2 separate regions of the Homo sapiens genome follow, and region 1 is linked to region 2. Evidence: promoter capture Hi-C in 16 types of primary human blood cells and fetal thymus (Javierre and others, 2016). All regions are on one chromosome and are shown on one strand. Each heading gives the region's core, a stretch centred on a gene start or on the middle of the fragment in contact. The rest is flanking DNA. Distances are from core to core; before and after follow the strand shown.

Evidence for each region. Contacts are between HindIII fragments. The CHiCAGO score rates a contact against its expected background, and 5 or more counts as called.
Region 1: a contact is called between a fragment that was not itself captured here and the fragment with the promoter of ARMCX6 in region 2, in 1 of 17 cell types (total CD8 T cells). The highest score is 5.7, in total CD8 T cells.

What each region holds. Positions count from the first base shown.
Region 1 is chrX:102,643,427-102,650,625 of GRCh38, forward strand. All of the region lies in intron 4 of ARMCX5-GPRASP2 (ARMCX5-GPRASP2 readthrough), which reads left to right. Among named protein-coding and RNA genes, the nearest start is that of GPRASP1, 4.5 kb to the right of the region's middle. The HindIII fragment of the contact is 198 bases long and covers 5,543-5,740 here.
Region 2 is chrX:101,613,829-101,620,430 of GRCh38, forward strand. It overlaps ARMCX6 (armadillo repeat containing X-linked 6), which reads right to left and starts at 4,172. Exons shown (of 3, transcript NM_019007.4): 1 at 4,057-4,172; 2 at 3,675-3,756; 3 at 1,297-2,938. The coding sequence starts at 2,792. The coding sequence ends at 1,890. RefSeq lists an enhancer at 1-343. The HindIII fragment of the contact is 4,525 bases long and covers 138-4,662 here.

The DNA of each region.
Region 1 (7,199 bases), core at 4,392-6,891, 1.0 Mb after region 2:
GTTGCATTCCTACCAGCACTAAATAAGTTTCTGTTGCTCTACCTCCTTTGCAGCACTTGGTGGTGTCAGTGTCCTACATGTTGACCATTGTATTAAGTGTATAATGGTATCTCACTGTTGTTTTAATTTGCATTCTCCTGATGACATACAATGTGGAGCATCTTTTCATATGTTTATTTGCCATCTGTATATCTTCTTAGGTGAGGTGTCTGTTAAGGTCCTTAGCCCATTTTTTAATCCTGTTTGTTTTCGTATTGTTGGGTTTTAAGAGTTCTTCATATATTATAGATAACAGTTCTTTATCACATATGTCTTTTGCAAATATTTTCTCCTGGTTTGTGGCTTATCTTCTCAGATAACAGTGCCTTTCTCAGAGTAGAAGTTTTTACTTTTAATGAAGTCCCGCTAACCAATACCTTATTTTGTGAATCATACCTTTGGTATTATATTTAGAGAATTGTCACCCTACACAAGGTAATCTAGACTTTTAGAAAATGTAACCATCTAGGAGCTGTAGTTTTGCATTTTACTTTTAGTTCTGTTAGCCATTTTGAGTTAATTTTGTGACATGTGTAGAGTCTGTGTCTAGATTTTTTTTGCATGTGGGTGTTGAGTTGTTTCAGTATAATTTATTGAAAAGACTCTCTTTTCTCTGTTGTATTGCCTTTGCTCCTTTGTTAAAGATCAGTTGGCCATATTTACATGGGTCTGTTTCTGGGCTCTCTGTTCTGTTGCATTTATTCGCCTGTCCTTTCATTGATACCACACTGTTTTGATTACTATAGCTTTATAGTAATTTTTAAAGTTGGGTAGTGTTGGTCCAACTTTGTTCTTCTCCAATAGTGTGTCAGCTACTATGGGCCTTTTGCCTCTCCATATAAACTTTAGAATCAGTTTGTCAGTACTTACAAAACAACTTGCTGCAATTTTGGTTGGGATCGCACTGAATTTATAGATTAAATTTGGAAGAATTAATATCTTGACAATATTGAATCCTCCTATCCATGTACATGGAATATCTCTGCATTTATTTAGTTATTTTATTTCCTTCATCAGTGTTTCATAGTTTCACTCATATAGATATTGTGCATATTCTGCTAGATTTATACCTAAGTGTTTCATTTTTAGGTGCTAATGTAAATGTTATCATTTTTAAACTACAAATTCTACTTTCTCATTGCTCGTATTTAGGAAAGTCATTTTTAAAATATATTAATCTTGTATCCTGCAACGTTGCCATAATTACTTATCAGTTCCAGAAGTTTTTTTGTTGTTGTCAGTTCTTTCAGATTTTGTACATACACAGTCATTTCATCTGCACATGAAAACAGTTTTCTTTCTTCCCAGTCAGTATAACTTTAATTTCTTTTTTCTTGTCTTTATTGCATTAGCTAGGACTTCCATTATGATGTAGAAAAGCAGTGGTGAAAGGGAAAATATCTGCCTCATTCCTGATCTTACTGATAAATCAAGTTTCTCACCATTAAGTATGATGTTAGCTGTAGGTTTTTGGTAAATATCCTTTATCAAGTTGAGGAAGTTCTCCTCTATTTTTAGTTTGCTGAGACAACTTTATTCTTTTATCTGTGGATATCTGGTTCTCTCATTACCACCACCACATATAGAGAACGGACAAGATTTTTAATAAATGGTGATTGCGTCCTCTATTAGTTTGTTTTCATGCTGCTGATAAAGATGTACCCGAAACTGGGAACAAAAAGAGGTTTAATTGGACTTACAGTTCCACATGGCTCAGGAGGCCTCAGAATTATGGCAGGAGGTAAAAGGCACTTCTTACACAGCGGGAGCAAGAGAAAAATGAGGAAGAAACAAAATCAGAAACCCCTGATAAGCCCATAAGATTTTGTGAGTCTTATTCACTATCACAAGAATAACACGGGAGAGACCAATCCCTGATTCAATTACCTCCCTCTGGGTCCTTACCATAACACGTGGGAATTCTGGGAGATACAATTCGAGTTGAGATTTTGGTGGGGACATGGCCAAACCATATCATTTCACCCCTGGCCCCTCCAAATCTCATTTCCTCACATTTTAAAACCAATTATGTCTTCCCAGCAATCCCCCAAAGTCTTAACTCATTTCAGCATCAACCCAAAAGTCCACAGTCCAAAGTCTCATATGAGACAAGGCAAGTCCCTTCTGCCTATGAGCTTGTAAAATCAAAATCAATCTAGTTACTTCCTGGATAAAACGGGGGTGTAGGTATTGGGTAAATACAACCATTCCAAATGGGAGAAATTGGCCAAAACAAAGGGGTTACAGGGCCCATGCAAGTCTGAAATCCAGTGGGGCAGTCAAATTTTAAAGCTCCAAAATGATCTCCTTCAACTCTAGGTCTCACATCCAGGTCATGCAGATGCAAAAAGTGGGTTCCCACAGTCTTGGGCAGCTCTGCCCTGTGGCTTTGCAGGGTACAGCCTCCCTCCTGGCTGCTTACATGGGTTGGCATTATCTGTGGCTTTTCCACGCACACAGTGCAAGCCGTCAGTGGATCTATCATTCTGGGGTCTGGAGGATGGTGGCCCTCTTCTCACAGCTCCACTAGGTGGTGCCTCAGTAGGGACTCTGTGTGAGGGTTCTGACCCCACATTTCCCTTCTGCACTGCCCTAGCAGAGGTTCTCCATGAGGGCCCCACCCCTGCAGCAAACTTTTACCTGGGCATCCAAGCGTTTCTTACATCTTCTGAAATATAGGCAGAGGTTCCCAAACCTCAGTTCTTGACTTCTGTACACCTGCATGCTCAACACCACGTGGAAGCTGCCAAGGCTTGCGGCTTCCACCCTCTGAAGCCACAGCCCAAGCTGTATGTTGGCCCCTTTCAGCCACAGCTGGAGCAGCTGGGACACAGGGCACCAAGTGCCCAGGCTGCACACAGCATGGGGGCCTTGTGCCCAGCCCACAAGAACACTTTTCCTCCTGGGCCTCCAGGCCTGTGATGGGAGGGACTACTGGGAAGTTCTCCGACATGGCCTGGAGACATTTTTCCCATGGTCTTGGGGATTAACATTAGGCTGCTTGCTACTTATGCAAATTTCTGCAGCTGGCTTGAATTTCTTCCCATAAAATGGGTTTTTCTTTCTTATCGCATAGTCAGCCTGCAAATTTTCCAAACTTTTATGCTCTGCTTCTCTTATAAAACTGAATGCCTTTAACAGCATCCAAGTTACCTCTTGAATGCTTTGCTGCTTAGAAATTTCTTCTGCCAGATACCTTAAATCATCTCTCTGAAGTTCAAAGTTCTACAAATCTCTAGGGCAGGGGCAAAATGCTGCCAGTCTCTTTGCCAAAACATAACAAGCGTCACCTTTGCTCCAGTTCCCAACAAGTCCCTCATCTCCATCTGAGACCACCTCAGCCTGAATTTTATTTTCCATATCACTATCAACATTTTGGGCAAAGCCATTCAACAAGTGTCTAGGAAGTTCCAAACTTTCCCACATTTTCCTGTCTTCTTCTGAGCCCTGTTCCAACCTCTGCCTGTTACCCAGTTTCAAAGTCGCTTCCATATTTTGGGGTGTCTTTTGAGCAACACCCCACTCTACCGGTACCAATTTACTGTATTAGTTTGTTTTCACGCTGCTGATAAAGACATACCCGAGACTGGGAAGAAAAAGAGGTTTAATTGGACTTACAGTTCCACATGGCTGGGGAGGCCTCAGAATCATGGCAGGAGGTAAAAGGCACTTCTTACATGGCAGTGACAATATAAAAATGAGGAAGAAGCAAAAATAGAACCCCCTGATAAACCCATCAGATTTTGTGAGACTTATTCACTATCATGAGAATAGCACTGGAAAGACTGGCCCCCATGATTCAATTACCTCCCCCTGGGTCCCTCTCACAACATGTGGGAATTCTGGGAGTTACAATTCGAGTTGAGACTTGGGTGGGGACACAGTCAAACCATATCAAGTCCCATCAATGGAATGTGAGTGGAAATGATGTGAGCATTTCCTCACCATGGATTTTAAGAAGGAAATCAACTACTTCTATTCTCCTTTTTCTCATTTGCTGGCTGGATGCAGGCTGTGGTGAGGCCCTATCATGATGAGGCAGGAAGTGATGGTTAGTTAATGAGAAACAACAACAAAAGGTAGTGTAGTTTTCTCATTATTTTTTCTATTATAGAAAGCAATTTGACATTCCATTAATTTCTAATATTTATTGACATTGTGGAAATTCAGGTTTTCTTCTCCCTGTAAAGCTAATTAGCTCTCCTTGCCAGCTCCTATAGTTCTAAAAATCCTCAAGGGGTATTTCCTATGTCCTGAATTTTTGGGGTTTTCCTGTGATTCTTCCAGTTGTTGCTGCCATTCTAAGCTGTATTGCCAGGCATTTAATGTCCTCTAATTAACTGTTCTCTCTAATTTCCTAACTCCACCTATACACAGGGTTTTCATGATGTCAGATCTGAGTAGTAGTCAAAAGTTTAAATCCATGTTAGAAAGGAGGATATTTTCCTCTCTTTAGGTTATGCTTTATTAATGGGTTCCTTACACTGGAGCATTACAGAGTTTACTTAAAGACAGTTATTTCCTGGATATGTATAAACCTGCCTTTGCTATGACAGATATACAGTTGAGGGTTTGTGTTGGAATAGGCACAAATAGGAGTTCTATAATAATTTCAGTGTTGCTATTAGAATATCTATACTTCCCTAATGGCAAGGCATTGTTCATGGGCTAGGGTCCTTGTGCGTGACTTGGTTTTTCTTCAAGATTAATTCTCTTGAAGTAGACCCCACCCCAAATATGACCTGAAAATATTCTTGGGCCAGGCCTCCCCACCAGTTCTGCAAATGTACCCTGTCTCAAGAAGTAGAGACAGGCTGAGATCTTTCCCATAGCATTTTCAGGCTACACTGAAAATAGACATCTGTTGGGCCAATTTCACCATATAGTTCACCAGACCAACCTCAGCCTAGTTATTCCTGACTACAGGGGACTTTAATTTCTGTGTACAACCTTTGAAACTTTGAGATAGAAGAAGGGGATACATTATAAGAAAACACAGGGTTTGGCTCAGCCTCGACCAAAAGAGAAGTCTCAGAAGGAAGCTTTGCTTGAGGCCCATAAAGGACAGTATAGAGGCAAGTAAAACTAAATAGGCAAAAACAAGTCCATGACCATGGTGATTGAGACAGACAAGAGGAGAACAGGCAAGTGATAGGCTGGTGTGCAAGTTCATGAGCATGCTTGGGGGTGGTGGGTGGGATTTGGAAGAAAACAGTGAGTATGATGAGTGAGCACAGTTGCATCTGTATCATGGACTTAATGCTTATGGATTATTTGGCTCTGACATTTAGATTTCAGTGGTAAGTCAGGGTTACACAGGTGCTAGTGTAGGCACTGAGGAGTAGAAAGATGACTGTTGCAATTTATTGAACTAGAATCAATTATAGGAGGAAATAAATAGTGCTTAGCAGTCAGAGTATCTTATTTCAATCTTTTATTTGCTCAAAGGTTTTAAAAATAATAATCTATTTGATACATACCCATACAAAGCTAACATATGAAAAGCTTAAAGTAGGGCCTTTATCACTTCAATACATACTAACCAATACAAGACCATGTTTTCTAAGAGTACTGACAACAAATTGTCCAACACACATTTTAAAGTCTCACACAGTAAAATTTGTCAGCTTTTGGTAGAACCATTCCTCTGTCAGTAAATATCTTGGAATAAAGATCCTAGCACCTGCAGAATTACCACAGAAGCTTGTGCAAATGTGATTTTGGACATAATTATAAAACAGTAAAGGGGATTGGTGGCTGTATTGGTGAGATGAGCCCTAAAATATTTCTCAGAGACTGAAGCACAGGTAAAGAAAGGCAATGGGAATAGAATTCATCAGGATGGTGAGTGTATTCTGTTCCTACTCCTGCTATTGTTACCAACCAACACAGTGGGTGGGTTCAGTCGTTTGACATCAACCCCATGATCACAGCAAGGATTTAGTAAGGGGATTTATTACTTGTAACGAAGTAATGAGACCACCAGGGATACTTCCCAAAATAATGTCTCCCTGAGATGGGGGCTGGGTCAGGTTTTCATAAGCATTGGGTATTAAGGGTATATCCTGATGGCTTTGGATCTTACAATGAGGTGATGCTGAGAGGCATGATCTGACTGGATCCTGCCATCCAGTGTCCACTTCTTAATTCAGCCCTGGTCCTAATTCAAAACACTTACATTCTCCCTCTGATTGCATGCTTGGTTCATCTGAGGATGCTCAGGTAACATGATCTGAGGGTCCCCGGCAACTGAAAGACAATGCACAACTTTGTTATATAAAAGTTAAACCAGATAGGTCTGGTGCTGCTACCCTGTAACCAGTTACCATACATGGAATGGCTTAAAATAATACCAATTTATTATTATCTTACAGTCCTGGAAGGTTGGAAATCTTCAAAGGGCTTCACCACACTAAAATCAAGATGTTGCCAGAGGAGCTATCCCTCTGGCATTTCTAGGGAAGAATCTGTTTCTTTGTCTTTTCCAGGTTCTGGAGACAGCCTGTATTTCTTGGATCTTGGCTTCCTTCCATCTTCAAAGCCAACGATGACCAGTGTAGACTTTCTATGCTGCTTCAATCTGACATGGAGTCCCTGCCTTCCACATCTAAAGTACCCTTGCAATTACATTGGCCAAGATAACCCAGAATAATCTTAAATTAAACTCAGCTGAATAGCAATCTTAATGATCCTTTGTCAGGTAATATAAAATGGTACATGTTCTGGAGAACAGGACATGGACATCTTTAGGGGACCGTTACCTGCCAAACACAATGAGGGTAGTGTCTAAATGAGTTTTCAAATGGACAACAGTAACAACATCAACTTGGTGTTTAACCACATTGCTCTGTCTGTCCCATGCAGGAAGCAGGGAAAGGAGGGGCTCAAGAGTAGAGGACGGATGTGGGGGTGAAAGAAGAGGATTCAAATGAGCCAGGTTGCTTTGTCTCGGGGAGGGGGGTGCACGGTGGGATCCTCTCCTGAGAATGACTGCTGAAACAATAGGTAGTTGTGGCAGGTGGCGGAGATCCAAGCTGGTTTGATACCAGCCACATTTCCACACTGCCAAATATCATGGCAAGAGAAGACTTGACAGGGAACCGAAGAGAAGCCAGGACCATCCCTACCTGGCGGCATCAAAGAGAGAGGACTGTTATGAC
Region 2 (6,602 bases), core at 2,922-5,421:
GAGTTGGTCAGGGGACCCGGCAGGCACTCAGGCCGTCTGGCCAGCATGGACTGTGGGGCAGATGGTACAAGCAGGAAAGTTGTAACCCACCTGGAAGGCAAGCTGCGGGGGGAAGGGAGAATAAGACAAGAAAAGAAAGCTTTGTTCTGTGTGGAACAGAACAAGCAGAATGCCCAGCACCACAGAGATCGCAGCTGCCCAGGACACAGTGACCCACAGCAGCAGCCCTGGGAGACCGAGAGGGCACCGGGCACGGCAGCAGCCTTGCCCAAGGGGAAGCAGATGTGTTTACTGGGTTTGCCATGGCTTTAGGGAAGGGGACCACTTCTTGACACATCACAAACATGCAGGGAACCTGGCTTTGCTGATTCAGGGGCTAAACCTGCTGGGCGGGATCTGGTAATGTTGGAGGTGGGGGCGGGGCAGAACGAGCTGCCCTGACCCATGGAGTGCTTCTGCGCCCACGGGCTCTTCCTTTCCTGGCAAGGTGCAGGCACCTCAGATGGAGAGTGTGGAGGTGTCTCCGGATGGATGGAGTGGCCACGGTCGTGCCAAGTGCCCTCAGCATCTGCCCTATCACCCCCGCAGGTAGTTGATGGAGGGCTCCACTGTCCCCTTCCTGGGTCCCACCACAGGTAGTGGGGATATGGAAGAAAGGAGGTTGCTCCAAAGGGAGCAGCGGCCAACCCTCTCACTCTGCCAGGAAGTAGCGCTGGGGATCCCAAGGAAGAGAGAAGGAGGGCTGGAAGCAGATTTCCCCCTGGCTTCGCAGGAGGGATAGAACTACACAGGGTAGGTGCTGGGCAAGCGGCAACCTTTATCGCCATCATTGTGCAATAAATGCGCCCCGATGCGTGGTAGAGCGCCCCCACCCGTTCCACCCCGGTCCCCATCCCCACGTCGGGATGCGCCGACAATCGAAAAGGCCAGGGTTACTGACCTTTCTCTCCAGGCTGGCAGTCAAGGAAAAGACATTAAGAAGGGATTTCTCTGTGCCGGGGCACGGTGCTGCCTGCTCCACGGGTGTTGTCTCTTTCAGTCCTCTCAACATTCCATCCTAATTCCACGAACTCCCCCGCTGTGCCCCTCCCCTTCCCCCACCCCCGCCTCCAGCCCCTTCTTGAAGTTTATTCTGAGCACTGCAGCCCCTCTCTATCCCTGCCTCCTGTGAGCACCGATAAGCCTGCATTTGTCACGGAGCAGACGTTCCAGTCAGCTGGCGTTTACCGTGCTTTTTTTTTTGTCCTTCTCTCCGTGCAGACTGTAAACTCAAGGACAAGGACCATGACTCTTTTCTGCCAATCAAAGCACACAACTTTATTGATGATACACACAGATGCGGACTTGGGTGGAAGAGGTTAAGTCGGTACAATAGACAGAAGAGCAGTGCACTTTTTTGATGAATAGGTTCACTATCCATCAGGCGCGTGTAGAAGAAAGAGCAAACGAAAAATAATTCAACCTAAGCTGCAACAAATGCATTTTCAGCTCAAGCCGCGATATGCCTCTGGTCTCTGCAAAGCGGTCCCGCTTGGACAGGGAGACCACCACAGGCAACAATAGCACTCGTGATGCTGTAATTTGATGTTCTTTGTCCACAGCAGGCAGCTGAAGTGATCCCCTCACCACATGAAGGAGGCTGCAAGGGAGGAATTTACAATGCCAACATTGCCTGCAGACTGCACAACCAAGAAGTTACTCAAAGCTCTGTGGGAGCCCCTGCCTGGCCAATAAGAGTGTGGTCCTGGATTGAGCCCTGGAACTTTCACCCAATGAGGTGGTGATTGGCTAAGGCTGGATCTTCAGTAGCACCCTCTGCAGATTCTTTGACATCTGCAAACCAAGCGCGTTGTGGGTGGATTCCGTCCCATTGTGTTCGAGAGGGCCGTTTATGGGGCAGGGGTTTCCAGGAGAATCTCTCTGTTTCCATTTCTGATAAAGAGGGACATGAATGAGAAGAGCATCTGGGCACCGACTAACTCCCCCGCCAAGACTGGCTTTTCAGACAAACCCATCAGCGGTTTCAAAACCTGAACCTTAGCACATCCACTTCCCTCTGATATCAAAGGAAACTTCAAGTCTGAAGCGGACTTGGCAAGCATGTTATTAATAACTGTCATGCTTATTAACAAATTTAATCCGGCCTGCTGCAGAAATGAGTTGCAGCAACGTGACACAGTCTCCCGACACACTTCATTGATGTACATCTTAATCTGGCCCTGACTTTCAATACTCGCATTTAAGTTATCCGGGGCACACAAAGCCTCTCTAACAGTGGGGTCTGGAGTGGGGCTCGTGTTTCTAGCCATTGAGAGGCTGGCCAAATGGCTATTGATATCCTGGCTAAATGGAAAGCCCGCATCCTTGGGCTCGGCAAACAACAGTTTTCCCTGAATGAAAAGACACTTGGAGAGGTCCAGAACACAACTGCCATTTTTACAATTTTGAGCACTCCAAGTATTTTTATGTTCATAGGGGAATGGCCGCTGTTTTATTGGGTGTGCTCGGTTGGCCTTGCCTCCCCCTGAGGGCCTGTCCTCAGTGCCACCTGGGGCCCCAGGTTCAGTCCAATCCCCATCCTCAGTCCAGGGCCGAGCCATAGTTTCAAAATCAAACCAAATATCAGGCTCCTCCTCATCCAGCTCCTGGTCATCGTCCCACTCCTCTTCCCCCTCCTCCTCCAGCTTCTCACTGTCATCTCTTCCTATGGTCAGTTTGTAAACGCAGTAGCAGGCACCAGCCCCAATCATCAGTCCTGCCGCCATCCAACCCACTTCCCGAGCCCGGCCCATGCTCAAGTCTGTGCCAGCCTTGGGGCAGGACAGGAGAGGGCCTTGCTCCACCTGATTGAAGAGGTCTCTCAGGTCCAGGGTGAGTAAGGATGGAGGGTAGCAGTCTTCAGCTTCTTCCAGGCTCTTGTAGCTCTCTTGTGATGAATCTGTGGGTGAAACAGAGTATTAGGGCTCGGGACTATGTTTGGCTTTGTGCCTCACAGACAGGGTGGATTTCGAGTTGGTGATAAAGGCAGATTAACAGGATACAATTTCTTTGTTCTTTTCTTTTCTGTCTTCCTCTATCGACCTCAGGAGCCCCCATTTCTCTTCCTGGGTCCACAGGGAAGGGCAGGAGATGGGTCTCTGCTATGATAGCTAGGAGGGTGACAGTGTGAGTACCTCTCAGGTAGTCTCCTACACCAGACCTCCACCCCCAAAGATTAAGGGCAGTTTCTCTCATTAACCTCTACCAAAGTCAGATAAATTCCTTCGTTTTCCCTTGTCTTCTGTTGTCAGTGGTCCCTCCACGGTGATAGAGGATAGAGTCTGGCAGAAGGACAAATGCAAAGACAGGTAGGCGGCAATGGAGAAATGAAAGTGTAGTGGATGAACTGAGGACACAGGTCCCAATTTCTGTTTTTGTGAATTTTAGACACTTGAGTTTAAAATATTTCTCATACTCTACTGACTTTCCGGACGCAGGCCTCCTCCGCCCCACTTGTCGTCCGCCATTTCCCCAGCAAAGGCCGCCACACCCCTTTCCCTGCACTGAAATGGGAGTGGGTGTGGAGAAAGAAGGGGCCAGGAGAGGGCGACTCGGACCTGGCCCTCTCATATCCCAGCCCCCCTCCTCCGCCACCCCCACCCATGGTCCTGGGCTAATCCCACCTTCACACTGACCTGCAAGGTTCCAACCAAGGCAGTTTTCTCCTTCTCTCGCTGAAACTTGTGCCGAAACCTACAGGCCAACAGACCTACAAACCTGCAAACAGACAAGGGACCGAGGGGACGGAGTGCTTGGTGGACGGACCAGCACCCGGGACACTAGAACCTTTCTTTTCTCGGAGTCTCTGGAAACGCCATTCACTCCCCTCACCCCCACCCGAAACCCGCCACTTCTCTCTACTAAAATGAGCACGGGGTGGGGTGGGGGTGGGTAGCAGTATTTAGAAAGTAGGCGAGAAAGGGACCCAGCTGTGATCGGCCTGAACTCGGATCTGTGGCGTTCTTGGCCCTCTTCCACCCATACCTCCTCTCAAGCAGCGCCCACCCTCGCACCGACCTGCACGGTCCGAGCTAGTTTCCTTCTTTCTTCACACGCCTGCAGAGTAATAGGGGGCTGGTACCCAGACGGAGGCGACTAGCAGGACTTGTGCTCTAGGCGGCTCTTGGTCACGTGACGGCCACGTCACCAGTGCGCTCTGGCCCCCAATTTCCACTCCCACAAGCAGTGCGGCAGGCGCCAGCCTGCCTTGTATCTCCCCCTCAACCCCCACAGTGGGCCCTGTCACTTTTTTCCTCTGTAACAATACCAGAAACCAGAAGTGGCCCTGTCTTTCTGGTGTTTGAATTTATGTTTCTCTAATTCCAGGAAGGGGCAGCATCTTTAGGAAGGGGCAGCATCTTTTCCTGAGTCTACCCTTCATTTACACTTCTTGGGGAATTGTCTCATCCTTTCCTTGGCTCTGAAACTTCTGCAGCCCCTTTCTTAAATTTCTACACTTTTCCGTGTTCAGTCTCTACACCAACATTGGGTGAGGGGGCAGAAACGGAAGTCCAGGCAGTGGTGAGATTTTAATTAGTATTTTGATAACATTTAAGTTATATTTTGTCCTTTCTTTTTTATTGACTTGAACTACACTATTTTGTAATCGGAAAAAAACAATAAAGCTTTTCCCACTTGGAGAAGAAATAATTCAAATCTTTTTTTTTTTTTACAGATATATATATATATAACATAAGCAAGATTTCCCAGTTAATAGGAGGCCTCATTGATTTGATGAAGTTAGTTTGTATCAAGTTGAACATATTTTCTTCGGACTGCACAGGAAATAGCAGCTTTCAAACAACATATTAAAATGTAAAAACACACCCTTAGAAACAAAACCAGTTGTGCTTTCAACATGATTTATAAATTGATGGATAAATGAATCTATACCGAGAAGGTCAGTGTTCTAATTTTGACCATTTTAAGTAAGTGAACTATTGTCCCTTTCTTTCTCCTGGCTGAACTCATAGTATTAGGTGTCAGATGACTGAGATCTTCATAGAAGATTGCTGGGTGACTTTCACTCTGGCTTCAAAGGACAGATTTTATGCAGACCCCAACTTCAGATGAATCTTACATCTTCAGATGAACTTTACAGATTAGTGACTCCACAGATTAGCCTGCCTTTCATTCACAGGGCTTTATTTACAATCTATTCTGAAGTTTGTGGTGCAACCTATAAATCTTCCAGAAATTAGAGAATTTCCTGTTATCCTATTGATGAAAATGAGACTTGATAGAGGTAATTTTCTTTCCATCATGACACTGTTGGCGATCTCTCTGTTGTCTGCCATTCATGTATTTTATGCTACCCTAGCAGTGGTGAGTGTTCAGCATTTTCCAGTGGAGATGGTGGTGAGGGTCTGTGGGTGACTGGGAATCAGTGCAACACCCCTGATGTCTGTGTCATTTTTTCCCCTCACAAGTGGAAGGGCAATGCACAGGATCTCAAGCAGTTGCCAGAAAAAAAGAGGACTTTTCATTTCCTGCCTTCTATTACAACTTCATTGAGCCACCAGTACAAGCCCCTCAGAATAATCCCAAAACTCAGGGACCAAGTATGCAGAAGTTAGTCCTCATGCATCCACCTGTCCCTGCTGAGGAGTCATACTCTAAATATAGACACTCCAGGCAACCTCTTAGAACATTGAAATATGACACCCCAGAGGGAGGGGCTCCCCAGTGAGGGGCTCCTGTGTGGAGGAGGCCCTTTCAGGAGGCAAGCCAGGGAGTCCTAGTGCCTTGCTGGTGAATATTCAGAAGTCAATATGTCACAACTTTCTGGTCTTCCCCTTTTATAGTCCAAACTCACCAATATCACATCTTATCTCTCTAAATCTTTACCTCATTTTTTTTTCATGACCCTTTATTAACTTCCCCTAGACAAGTGAATTATACTTATGAAGGCTTACTAACAGAACTCTCAGATTCAACAGTCCATCATTCAGTGTTTGGCTGCTAGGTAGTTGTATAAGTGGCTTTTGTTTGTTTTGAATATATACATTAGAAAAAACTAAGGAGTATGTAAAGCTTAATAAAGACAGATGACTTGGTGTCACAGACATGGCTTTACAATAAGAACTCACTTTCACAACACTTAGCCAGGCTTCAAGGACAAAAACTTTACTCCTACCTCTCCTCAGTAGTATAAAATATCTCCACCCTTTTGGTATATTCTCCAGTTAGTCCGATGTATAACTTCTCACTACCATTCTCCCAGTATGCCAGACCTTTCCTGGTTTGAATCCACTCCCTGTCTAAAACTTCCTAAAACCCCATGGTTATAAAAACCCTTTCAATTCTCTTACCTCTTTGTTCTTCTGATCCACGATTCTATCAATTCCTACCTGGAGACTAGCATTAAAAAAAAAACTACTTTGCTCTCCATTATACATCTACCAAGAAATATTTAATTAAGGACATGTTATAAGGCTCACATACCTTTCAAAAGTGAGAAAGGAAAATGCTTAAAGAAGTCCTCAGACACTACTGTTAAAAGTTTCTGAGTCCGCAAAAAACTACTGTGAAACCACTGCCAAAACAAAACTTTTGGCTTAAAT